2 separate regions of the Homo sapiens genome follow, and region 1 is linked to region 2. Evidence: promoter capture Hi-C in 16 types of primary human blood cells and fetal thymus (Javierre and others, 2016). All regions are on one chromosome and are shown on one strand. Each heading gives the region's core, a stretch centred on a gene start or on the middle of the fragment in contact. The rest is flanking DNA. Distances are from core to core; before and after follow the strand shown. Region 1 has its middle 4.3 kb from the start of DORIP1. Region 2 holds the start of SEC23A (SEC23 homolog A, COPII component).

Evidence for each region. The method cuts DNA at HindIII sites, captures the fragments that hold promoters and counts their contacts. A CHiCAGO score of 5 or more calls a contact.
Region 1: a fragment that was not itself captured here is called in contact with the fragment with the promoter of SEC23A in region 2 in 10 of 17 cell types (total CD8 T cells, total B cells, naive CD8 T cells and 7 more); the score reaches 20.9 in total CD8 T cells.

The regions. Positions count from the first base shown.
Region 1 is chr14:44,889,837-44,896,111 of GRCh38, reverse strand. No RefSeq gene overlaps it. Among named protein-coding and RNA genes, the nearest start is that of DORIP1, 4.3 kb to the left of the region's middle. The HindIII fragment of the contact is 4,162 bases long and covers 1-3,340 here.
Region 2 is chr14:39,099,725-39,105,469 of GRCh38, reverse strand. SEC23A (SEC23 homolog A, COPII component) reads left to right here and starts at 2,235. Exons shown (of 20, transcript NM_006364.4): 1 at 2,235-2,438. SEC23A-AS1 (SEC23A antisense RNA 1) reads right to left here and starts at 2,330. Exons shown (of 2, transcript NR_146545.1): 1 at 2,099-2,330; 2 at 1,658-1,925. RefSeq lists silencers at 2,020-2,249, 2,410-2,529, 2,550-2,629. The HindIII fragment of the contact is 19,881 bases long and covers 1-5,731 here.

The DNA.
Region 1 (6,275 bases), core at 10-2,509, 5.8 Mb before region 2:
AAGTTCACTCTCAATATTAATCCTCTCCTACAGGTAGAAAAGCCCTTTAAAAATGTTTGTAAATGTGGATTATGTGTTTAATTATAAATCTCTCACAAGACATGGAGTTCATTTTATACTGATTAGGTCATTCTCTTCCTGAAAACAGCCATAGTATGGTGGATGACACCATTTCTGGAGAATAGTATTGAGATTGCTCATTAAACTCTGCCGAGTCTCAGCTAGATGGAGGAAGCATGGATTCCTTGAATACTTGGATAACTCACAAACATCACTGAGGCCTTTAACTGAAATTTCCATTCTGCATCTTTTCCACCGTCTTCAAAATCTGACATCTGAGTTGTAGGGTTTTTTTAGATATATTTACTGAAGTATAATTGGCATAGAATATATAGAGCATACTTAAAGTGTATAATTTTTATCAGTTTTGACATATGTATAACCCCTTAAACCATCACTGTGATCAAATGAGTATGCCCATCACACTTAAGTTTCTGCTTACCTACCGCCCCCCAACTCTGCCTTTTTTTTTTTTTTTTTTTTTTTTTTTTTTCAGAATCCTGATCTGTTACCCAGGCTGGAGTGCAGTGAATGATCTCGGCTTATTGCAACTTCCGCCTCCCAGGATCAAGAGTTTCTGGTATCTCAGCTTTCCGAGTAGCTGGGATTATAGACGTGCACCACCATGCCTAGCTAATTTTTGTATTTTTAGTAGAGGCAGAGTTTCACCATGTTGGCCAGGCTGGTCTCAAACTCCTGGCCTCAGGTGATCTGCCCACCTCGGCCTCCCAAAGTGCTGGGATTACAGGCGTGAGCCACCACACCTGGCCCTCATTCTCTTAGCAGTGTATTTTGAAGAGAAGTTTTAACTTTTAATAAAGTTTAATTTATTTATTATTTTATGGATTACATTTCTAGTGTTGTTTCTAAGAAATTTTTGCCTACCCCAAGCTCACAAAGAAATTTTCCTATGTTTTCTTATAAAAGTTTTATGTGTTCAAGCTGTACATTTAGATGTATGATGCATTGTAGTTAACTTTCTTATATAGTTTGAGGCATGTATCCAAGTTCATATTTGATGTATGGATACCCAGTCATCGCAGCAATTTTTTTTTTGAAAAGCCTGTACTTTTTCCACTGGGTTGCTTTTGTGCTTTTGTCAAAAATTAGTTGCGCAGCTTGGGCGCAGTAGCTCACGCCTGTAATCCCAGCAGTTTGGGAGGCCGAGGCGGGCGGATCACAAGATCAGGAGATCGAGACCATCCTGGCTAACATGGTGAAACCCCGTCTCTACTAAAAATATAAAAAATTAGCCGGGCATGGTGGCGGGTACCTGTAGTCCCAGCTACTTGGGAGGCTGAGGCAGGAGAATGGCGTGAACCAGGGGGGCGGAGCTTGCAGTGAGCCGAGATCACACCACTGCACTCCAGCCTGGGCGACAGAGCGAGTCTCCATCTAAACAAAAAAACAAAAACAAAAAAATTAGTTGCCCAATACCATTTTATAAACACTTTATTTATTTATTATCAATCATCAACCATATGTCACACAGTATGCTAGCAGTGGAGATATCAGTAAGTGTTCTTTGGTTGCAAAGACTGGAGACCAATATTGTTAATTTAAATAGGACATTTTTGGGGTTTTTTTTTGTTTTGTTTTGTTTTTTTTTTGAGACAGACTCTCGCTCTTTCGCCCAGGCCGGACTGCAGTGGCGCTATCTCGGCTCACTGCAAGCTCCGCCTCCCAGGTTCACGCCATTCTCCTGCCTCAGCCTCCCGAGTAGCTGGGATTACAGGCACCTGCCACTGTGCCCAGCTAATTTTTGTATTTTAAGTAGAGACGGGGTTTCACTGTGTTGGCCAGGCTGGTCTTGAATTCCTGACCTCAGGTGATTCACCCGCCTCAGCCTCCCAAAGTGCTGGGATTACAGGTGTGAGCCACTGCTCCCGGCCTTCTACTAGTCTCAATAAGTCCTCTTTAGAATTCAAATTATAATGCTCAGTTACATTACTAGTAAACTATTTTTAATCTCATTTTTCCAAAAGCTGAATTTTTGCTTTAAATCTATAAACTTTGTTGGTAGATGTTTAAAAAGGTCCAGACTCCACCACAACAGATAATCCAGTAATTATCCTGGGATGTAAAAATATCTGAAAAGATGAGAGGAAGACATTGATATCTGAACTTAAAGTTACAGAGCCTGTTTGGAGAGGCTATGTGACAGACACAACCAGCCCATAATTACCCCTCAATGAGAGGCCTTGAGAAAGAAATATCCTGATATCACTTTTCTCCTCCCTCTGATATAATGATGTGTTGTCATTATTTCTATTATTGTATACCGTTTGAAAGTGACACATTTTCTATCGCCCTTGCTTTGTTGATTGACAGTTCTGACAGTTTCCATGCTGGTTGACAAAACAAGTGATTCTGCAGTTGCATAAAGTTACATCTATTTTACTCCTGTCATTTGTGCTGTGCTTGCTGTACATTTTTACTGCTATATGGGAATTTAAGAAATAATTTTAAAGTGTTTATTATTATTATTAATTTATTTTTTGAAACAGAGTCTCACTCTGTTGCCTACCACACTGCAGCCTCATCCTCCCAGGCTCAAGGGCTCCTCCCACCTCAGCCTTCCAAGTAGCTGGGACTACAGGTGTATGCTACCATGCCCGGCTAATTTTTTTTGTATATTTTTTGTAGAGAAGGGGATTCACTCCATTGCCCAGGCTGGTGTTGAACTCCTGGACTCAAGCGATCTACCCAACTCGTCCTCCCAAAGTGTTGGGACTACAGGGATGAGCCACTGCGCCAGGCCAAATGAAAAAATAATTCATACTATCTTTGTTACCAGTCTTAAAATTTAAAATATACCCCATTTTATTTCATTTTTTTGAAACTTATCCTTTAAAAAATTGGTTTAAAGTCTTATTTTTCTGTTGGGTCTCATGTTCTTGGTAAAGTGGTCGTTAGATCAAGTTTGATGTACACAAATACCATTTATCTGTCTATCCTAGTACATTTGCTGAGCTCCCATCATGAACTTTGAGTCCCTGAGGATCTTGAAGTTAAGAAGGTTCCTGCTCTAGAAAATATGTAAGCTGTATAAACAACAATAACAATGAGGAAGGGCATGAAAATCTAATTTCTGTAACTCAATTCAATTCAGTCGATCTCATAGCCTTATTATCTGGGGAAAAATCAGAACACATAGGCCCTAAATTTAGTCATAAACTTTAGTCTAGATATATTTTCCAGAAGAAAGGGGTAGTCGTGGGGACTTAGCCCCAGAAGCAGCTGTCACTTGCCATTATATCAGACTCTGTTGCATTAAGCTTTCCAAAAATAGAATTCACATCTTCAAATTCCCGTATTCCTTTGGGTATCCCCAACAGACTTTTCCCCCAGTGAACAAACATTATGTTCTTACTTTTGACAATCATTTCAACTGTGATACAGGAATTTGGTTCTAAAAATTCAGGGACAGGATCAGCTCTTTCCAGCCCCTTCTAGCTCTAAATCTTAGGAAACAGTGGGTGCCACTTTTTCCCAATGTGAAGCCACATGGGCTGGGTCCTTTTTCTCCCTCAGATCACAGAAAGTAAAGTAAGCAAATAAGGGAAAAATCAGACTTTAGTTCACTAAAAGTGTTCTTTTTATTTGCCGACATGTTTAGTATTTCTGGTGCTCTTTATTCCTTTGCATATATCTAAGTTTCCCTCTGCTATCACTTCACTTCACTTTGAAAAAACTTGGTTTAACGTTTTCTGTAGTGCAGTCTGCTAGGATGGTTTTAAAAAATGGCTGCACACTCTTTTACATTGTTTCCATTGAGACATTGGGTCTTTGTTCCTTCTTCTTGAATCTGGGTAGACTAGTAGCCTTTGACCTACAGAGTACAGCAAAAATGAAACTCCGTGGCTTCTGAGGCTAGGTCATAAAAGAACATGCAATTTCTGCCTTATTCACTTGAATACTTGCTCTTAGAGCCCTGAACCATGATGTGAGAAGACCCCTATCCTGGAGAGGCTATATTCTGGTCAGCTGAGCAAGCTGAGCCCAGCCTTCTAGTCATTCCTGCCACAATGCCAGATATATGAGTGAAGGTCTCCAGATCCTCCAGACTTCCCATTCAGCAGATAAATACTGCTGATGACCTCCCTTGATACTAAAAGGAGTAAAATGCAAATCAAAACCACAATGAGACACCATCTCACACCAGTCAGAATGGCAATCATTAAAAAGTCAGGAAACAACAGGTGCTGGAGAGGATGTGGAGAAATAGGAACACTTTTACACTGTTGGTGGGACTGTAAACTAGTTCAACCATTGTGGAAGTCAGTGTGGCGATTCCTCAGGGATCTAGAACTAGAAATACCATTTGACCCAGCCATCCCATTACTGGGTATATACCCAAAGGACTATAAATCATGCTGCTATAAAGACACATGCACACGTATGTTTACTGTGGCACTATTCACAATAGCAAAGACTTGGAACCAACCCAAATGTCCAACAATGATAGACTGGATTAAGAAAATGTGGCACATATACACCATGGAATACTATGCAGCCATAAAAAATGATGAGTTCATGTCCTTTGTAGGGACATGGATGAAATTGGAAATCATCATTCTCAGTAAACTATCACAAGGACAAAAAACCAAACACCGCATGTTCTCACTCACAGGTGGGAATTGAAGAATGAGAACACATGGACACAGGAAGGGGAACATCACACTCTGGGGCCTGTTGTGGGGTGGGGGGAGGGGGGAGGGATAGCATTAGGAGATATACCTAATGCTAAATGACGAGTTAATGGGTGCAGCACACCAACATGGCACATGTATACATATGTAACTAACCTGCACATTGTGCACATGTACCCTAAAACTTAAAGTATAATTAAAAAAAAAAGATCACCCAGCTGAAACCTGCCCAAATCTCTCATTCTCTTAATCATGAGATATAATAAAATCATTATTGTTCTAAGCAACTATTTTTTGAAGCCCATTTATACATCATTAGATAAGTAGAACAGAATTTGGGGTGCCATTGTAATAAAAACCTAAAACATGAGCATTGCCTTTCGGACAAGATGTAAGGAAGAACTTGAAAGAGCTTTGAGGAGACTGTTAGTAGAATCCTGACAGGTATTGAGGAGGATGTCAATGAGGGCTTCAAGGAAAGTAAGGAAAATGTTATTGGAAGCGAGAGGAAAGGAGCCCCTTGTCATGTCATGGTAGATGGTTTAGCAAATGTGATAACATAGCAAATAGAAAATGTATTTAATGAACTGCTGTATCTGGCTTAGAGTACCAGGAAGAACTTTGAAAGTATCAACTGTTTTTTGTTTGTTTTTGAACTAGGTATCATAACATCTGGCTAGACAAATCTACACTAAATATTCAATTTTCAAACAGAATTTAGAAGAATTATGTAGGAACTAGATCTGAAAATGAAACTATTTCTTGTTGTTATTTTCTCCCAGCAGAAGATGCTCAAAGTAAGATAGAGCTGCAGGGCAAAGATCAAATCCTAAGGTCTTATTAGAAAAACATGAGTTCAAGGTAGACCTGAGTTCAAGGTAGACCTAAGTCCAAGGATGTGATTGAAAGCCTTTTGTTAAGAGTTCAGAAACAGATAAAAGACCTTGTAAGATTCTGTTAACTTAAATTCATGAGATGTACAAAGTTAGAAAAGAGAGTTTTATTTCTTATAAAGGGTTGCAGTTTGCAGGCTGGACATCCTGACAGGCCAGGAAGCACAGCCTCCAGCAGAGACAGAAAGCAAGCACTTAGAGGGAGGAAAGGGTGGAACAGGGATTTATGCCAAATGGGTTAGCTAAGTATACATAATCAACAGGTTATAGGAGGAGCTATGGATATTCACAAAGCGAGGCATGCAAGCATAGTAAGCAAACATGCATGTTACATGCATCCCATGTTCACTTTAGGGTGGAGACTTAACATTTAAATGCATTATTGAGTTGGGCCTCATATGTCAAAGGTGAAGGCACTCAGTACAGCCTTTGTAAACCAGCCAGAACCAGTCTACGGTCAGTGGTCTCTTATCAGGAGAAAGTTACTAAAATCAGCCTCTTGTCCAGTCAAAGCTACAGTTGTGGCTTGAAGAACAGAGGTGTCAGTCAGAGTCTGGTGGTTGATGAGCTGCAGTTGTTTTAGTATTGCTTACCTCAAGGCCAGTGCTTAATTAGCTGCTAGAGAAAAAGAAAAATCTGTGGCAGTTAAAACATACTTTAGTCTTTAAGT
Region 2 (5,745 bases), core at 986-3,485:
ACCTCCTGGGTTCACGCATTTCTCCTGCCTCAGCCTCCCGAGTAGCTGGCTCTACAGGCGCCCGCAACTATGTCTGGCTAATTTTTTGTATTTTTAGTAGAGACAGGGTTTCACCATGTTAGCCAGGATGGTCTTGATCTCCTGACCTCGTGATCTGCCCACCTCGGCCTCCCAAAGTGCTGGGATTACCGGCGTGAGCCACTGTGCCTGGCCAGGAATGATGAGTTTTTGAAAAGACTTCATTGAGCTGGATGGTAAAGATGCCTTTCTGGGAACCATGAAATGAATGAATCTACCAAAGGTACTATGCTTTGATTTATTCCTCGCTGGATTCCAGGATTTCTGTGGATCTTCTCATCAATGTTGCTATGGTCTGAATATTTGTGTCCTACCAAACTCATAGGTTGAAATCTTAACTGCTAAGGTGATGGTATAGGGAGGTAGGGCCTTTGGGAGGTGAACAGGTCATGAGGGCTGGCCTCTCATGAATGGGATTAGTACCCTTGTAAAAGAGACCCCAGAGAGCTAGCCAGCCCCTTCTGCCATGTGAGAACAAAGAAGGCACCATCTATGAATCAGAAAGCAGGTCCTCACCGGACACCAAATCTGCTGGCATCTTGATCCTGGACTTCTCAGCCTCCAGGACAGTCAGAAATAAATTTCTGTTGTTTATGAGCTACCCAGTTGAGGGCATTTGTGTTAGCAGCCTAAATGGACTAAGATCTTTTTATCCTACTCATTCTTAGATCTTGTCGCTTTTGGTGGGTGTACTTATTCCACCTTTATAACAACACCTCTGCTGTGTGCTGTTAAGAATCTTCATTAAGGTAGCACCTTGAACCTACTTTATTTGGAAGCCTACACTAATTTTTGGCTTTCGATTCCCATTGCCCTCTTCAGGATTGTATTACAATTTGACAAGCAAACATCCTCTTCCACCTTCCAAAACAACTTTAGTACACACATTATAGAAAGGGAAATATGTTTGGTGCTTTTTTTTTTGAGACAGTCTCACTCTGTCACCCAGGCTGGAGTGCAATGGCGTGGTCTCGGCTCACTGCAACCTCCGCCTCCCGGGTTCAAGCAATTCTTCTGCCTCATCCTCCCGAGTAGCTGGGACTACAGGAGCGTGCCACCACACCCGGCTAATTTTTGTATTTTTAGTAGAGACGGTGTTTCACTATGTTGGCCAGGCTGGTCTCGAACTCCTTACCTTGTGATCCGCCTGCCTCCGCCTCCCAAAGTGTTGGGATTACAGGCGTGAGCCACCGCGCCCAGCCTGGTGCTGCTGTCTTATTTCTCATGAATATGAGCTTTCAAGGACAGGGACTTGATCTTTTTTTCCATTCCATAAAATGTTGATATGGCTAAACTTTGCAGGCTTTTAGGCGTTGTCATATATGCAATTAATTCCATGGGCACTTAATTTCATTCCCCTCACTGAAGGAAGGGGTTGTCTGAGACCACCAAGCTCTAATGTCTTACCAATCTGTTGCTTTCTCATTTTGTTCAACTTTTTTCTTGGAAAGAAAAACATTGAACATATCAAGATGAATCAGCCAAATATTGTACTGTGTGTGTGTTTTGGGGGTGGGGGGAGACAGAGTTGAAGTGGCAGAGGCAATGTAGGAGGAAAAGACAGGCTGACTAAAATACATAAATAGTACGTGAATTCTTTCGGGCCAGGGATCTGGGCCTACTTTGCCTGCATCATATTACCAGCATCTCAATTGTGTCTGGCACATAGTAAGTTTCAGTAAACATTTGTTGCACTAAGTGAAAGAATGAACTTTTCACTTTTTTCAGAGATGTGATTTGTGATTCTCGGAATCAACCAGGGTCCTAAGATGTCCTGGAGGCCGTCTCCATTTCTCTCGGTGAGCTAAGGTGTCCGAGTGGCACCAGTTCTCCACTCTTTCTGCGACCTGCAGGGAGTGGGATACGCTGTGGCTTTAGGGAGCTGGGAAAGGCGCTCTCTCCCGGTCCCGCTCTGCCCGGTCCCACGCCCCTCGGCCGTCCGGCTGCCTGGGTCTTCCGGGTTCTTCCGCCCCTCTGGCTCGGTCCCCGCTACCTCTCCTCCCTCCTCCCCTCTCGGTACCTTCGCCCGCCGCGCGCCTTTCTCAAATCCTCCGGTTATTAAGCAAGCTCAGGGGTCCGGTGGCCTGCCCTGGTAACTCTGCGCCCGCCCCTTCCTGCCCCCTTCCTGCCCTCACGCCCCGTCCCCTCCTCTTGACGTGGCAGAGGCGGCGCCAGCCATGTTGGCCGGGCGGAGGTCTTCGCTGAGGCCCGGGGCGGGGTGGCGCCACCCCTGATTGCGGTGCCACGGACTGCTCCTGCTGGGCGGAGAGGACAGATTTTGCAAAGCGGAGGCTGCGACGGGTCCTGCAGGGGGACAGTGAGGAAAGGGCCGCCTCGTCTCCGCTCCTGGGGGACCGCAGGTGCGCAGCGGGGAGCGGGGGCGGGCTGGCGGCGGCGGGCTGGGGGCTGGGATCCTGGGGTGGTCCCGGCTCTGCCCTCTCGGTGCCCCGGGGCCAGCGAGGTGTGCTGGAGGCTGAGGCCCGGTCCGGCGCGGGGAGCGTTGAGTGCTGAGCTTGCCACCCTCTCACCCACTTCGCTCTGCCGGGGCCGGGGGCCCGGCCTCCTCCAGCTCCCCTGGATTAGGTGGAAAGATGTGGAAAACGGTGGTTCGAGCATCTCGCCCAGCACCCACCCCCACCTCCTGGGCCACCCACCTCCACCCAAGTCCATCATCGCCTCTGGGCCCTTGGACTTACTGTTTCATTCCTTGCCAGATATGGAGTGTCCTAGACTTTGAACCCAATTGACTACGTCACCGTAATTCAGCCTTGGAAGTTAAAGGGGTTAAAGGGGAAAAGAGCTTGGTAAAGATAATGCCTTGGGTTTTGATTACAAAGAGTTCAGTTTTCCAGCAGGACCAGCCCTATCTCACTGGGCTTTCTTTCTACGGTAGGTAGTGTTTCCCGATTTGGTGGTAAAGGTACTGCCTGAGGAAGGTCATAGTAAATCTACATCAATCACTGAAGTGGGGATGTGGAATTCTCGTTTTCACTTGAACTCCCTCAACCTCTACCGTCCAAAGCCATGGATAACTAGCCAAATTAACTTGGTTTAAAAAGGTTTTAGATTTAAATATAAATGCATGTTGAGTTTTCCTTCTCTTTCTCCTCTGGTAGTGAATGAACATCATTTCAGAAGTCCAGCTATTTTTTTTTTTTCTGAGACGGAGTCTTGCTTTGTCGCCCAGGCTGGAGTGCAGTGGCGCAATCTCGGCTCACTGCAACCTCCGCCTCCCTGGTTCAAGCGATTCTCCTGCTTCAGCCTCCCGAGTAGCTGGGATTACAGGGGCGAGCTACTATGCCCGGCTAATTTTTGTATCTTTAGTAGAGACGGGGTTTCACCATGTTGGCCAGGCTGGTCTCGAACTCCTGACCTCAGGTGATCCGCCCGCCTCGGCCTCCCAAAGTGCTGGGATCACAGGCATGAGCCACTGCGCCCGGCCAGAGTCCAGCTATTTTTAATTGACTTACAGAATTTTAGAGTTAGATGGGACCTTGTGATTTTCTAGTCCAAGTCTCTTATTTTGCTGATGAGAAAAACAGGATTCAGAGAGGTTAATTGTCCAAGATCATAAGAAGACAATTCATTGAGGATTTTGGAAGTGAAAAGTAGGAGACAAATTTAATTGGCAACTAACAAATACATGTAATTGGAAGGAACTCAAATTTACTTGGCAAGTACATTTTCAATTAGATATGAATAAAAGGGCTTAAAATTAGAATATTGAAAAACTATCATAGGGAAAGTCTTTTTTGTTTTTTTTTTTTTTGAGACGGAGTCTCGCTCTGTCACCCAGGCTGGAGTGCAGTGGAACGATTTCGGCTCACTGCAACCTCCGCCTCCCAGGTACAAGCTAAGCTATTCTCCTGTCTCAGCCGCCTGAGTAGCTGGGACTACAGGCGACCGCCACCATGCCTGGCTAATTTTTGTATTTTCAGTAGAGACGGGGTTTAACCATATTGGCCAGGCTGGTCTCGATCTCCTGACCTCATGATCCACCCTCCTCGGCCTCCAAAAGTGCTGGGATTACAGGTGTGAGCCACCGCGCCCGGCCAGGGAAGTCTTACTTTTAAAAGACTTGGGCACATATTTGATATACTAGGTTAAAGTGACATAGTGGTTTGCTTCTTAGCTTTTAGCTCTATTATGATAAATTATTTAACCAAAGTATATTGTACTGAAATTGGACATTTCTTTGTAATAGTCTTTTGTGTTTTGTATCACTTTTTAAAAAAAATAAAGACTAGTGGCTGGGTGCGGCAGTTTACGCCTGTAATCCCAGCACTTTGGGAGGCCGAGGCAGGCCAATCACCTGAGGTCAGGAGTTCGAGACCAGCCTGGCCAACGTGGTGAAACCCCATCTCTACTAAAAATACAAAAATTAGCTGGGTGTAGTAGCTCACGCCTGTAATCCCAGCTACTGGGGAGGCTGAGGCGGGAGAATCGCCTGAACCCGGGAGGTGGAGGTTGCAGTGAGCCGAGATTGCACCACTGCACTCCAACCTGGGTGATAGAGTGAGACTCCATCTCAAAAAAAAAAGAGACTAATATGCTAAGTCTGCATTCTAATATAGTGTGTGGAATAATATTTCTTTGGTTTAATACTTTTATGCAAACATGTTAGTATTAGGGGAGAGAGTGCTTATCAAATAATATCATGTTATGAAAAGCTAGTTTGTGGCTGGGCATGGTGGCTCACACCTGTAATCCCAGCACTTTGGGAGGCTGAGGTGGGTGGATCACCTGAGGTTGGGAGTTCGAGACCAGCCTGACCAACATGGAGAAACCCCATCTCTACTAAAAATACAAAAATTAGCCAGGTGTGGTGGCTTATGCCCGTAATCCCAGCTACTCAGGAGGCTGAGGCGGGAGAATTGCTTGAATCCGGGAGGAGGAGTTTGCGGTGAGCCGAGATCACGCCATTGCACTCCAGCCTGGGCAACGAGCGAAACTCCGTCTCAAAAAAAAAAAAAAAGTTAAGTTGGCTTGTAAAAGGACTTTATTTCAGATATGCCATTGTCGGACATGGGACTAAGCCTGGCAAATTTTGTAATTGAATTCGTGATTTTAAGATTGCATGACTCCTACTATGGAAAGGTGAGGGAAGTCAGGGAAGTGTTGTGCATAGCCATGTAATTGGACCAATTGAGAAACAGGTGGGATTTTCTTCAAACTACTGCTGGAATGTGGGAATGTAAGAAGTATAATAGATGTGATTTAGCAAGCAAATTGATCTTAGAGCAGGGAGATTGAGAGGAAAAAATGTGAAGAAGAGAAGAGAGTTGTGCCCAGATATCACTCAGGTGATATTTAGTATGTCTTAATAAGAAGTAAGAATGTAGAGATACAATCCAGCCTTTTAACCAGTTGTAGAAAGTTAAACCTGGCTATTGTCTGTGTGTGAATGTCTTCCTGCTAAGACTCCTGGAACCTTTCTTAGTGAGGTTTCCTAATGGTCCTAAGGCAGTGGTTTTCAGAACCCCTAACTTAAACATTATTGAGTATCCAAAGAGAAAAAAAAAAGGCTAAATAGAAGACAGGTGGGTTTTCATATCTGTTTCTGCAGTTTATTGTGATATATTGTTTTGGTTGAATTGTATGAAGGATTAATTAATAAATTAAAAGGTTAATTGCAGTGTGGAATCTGAAAGCTTAGGAGTGACCTTT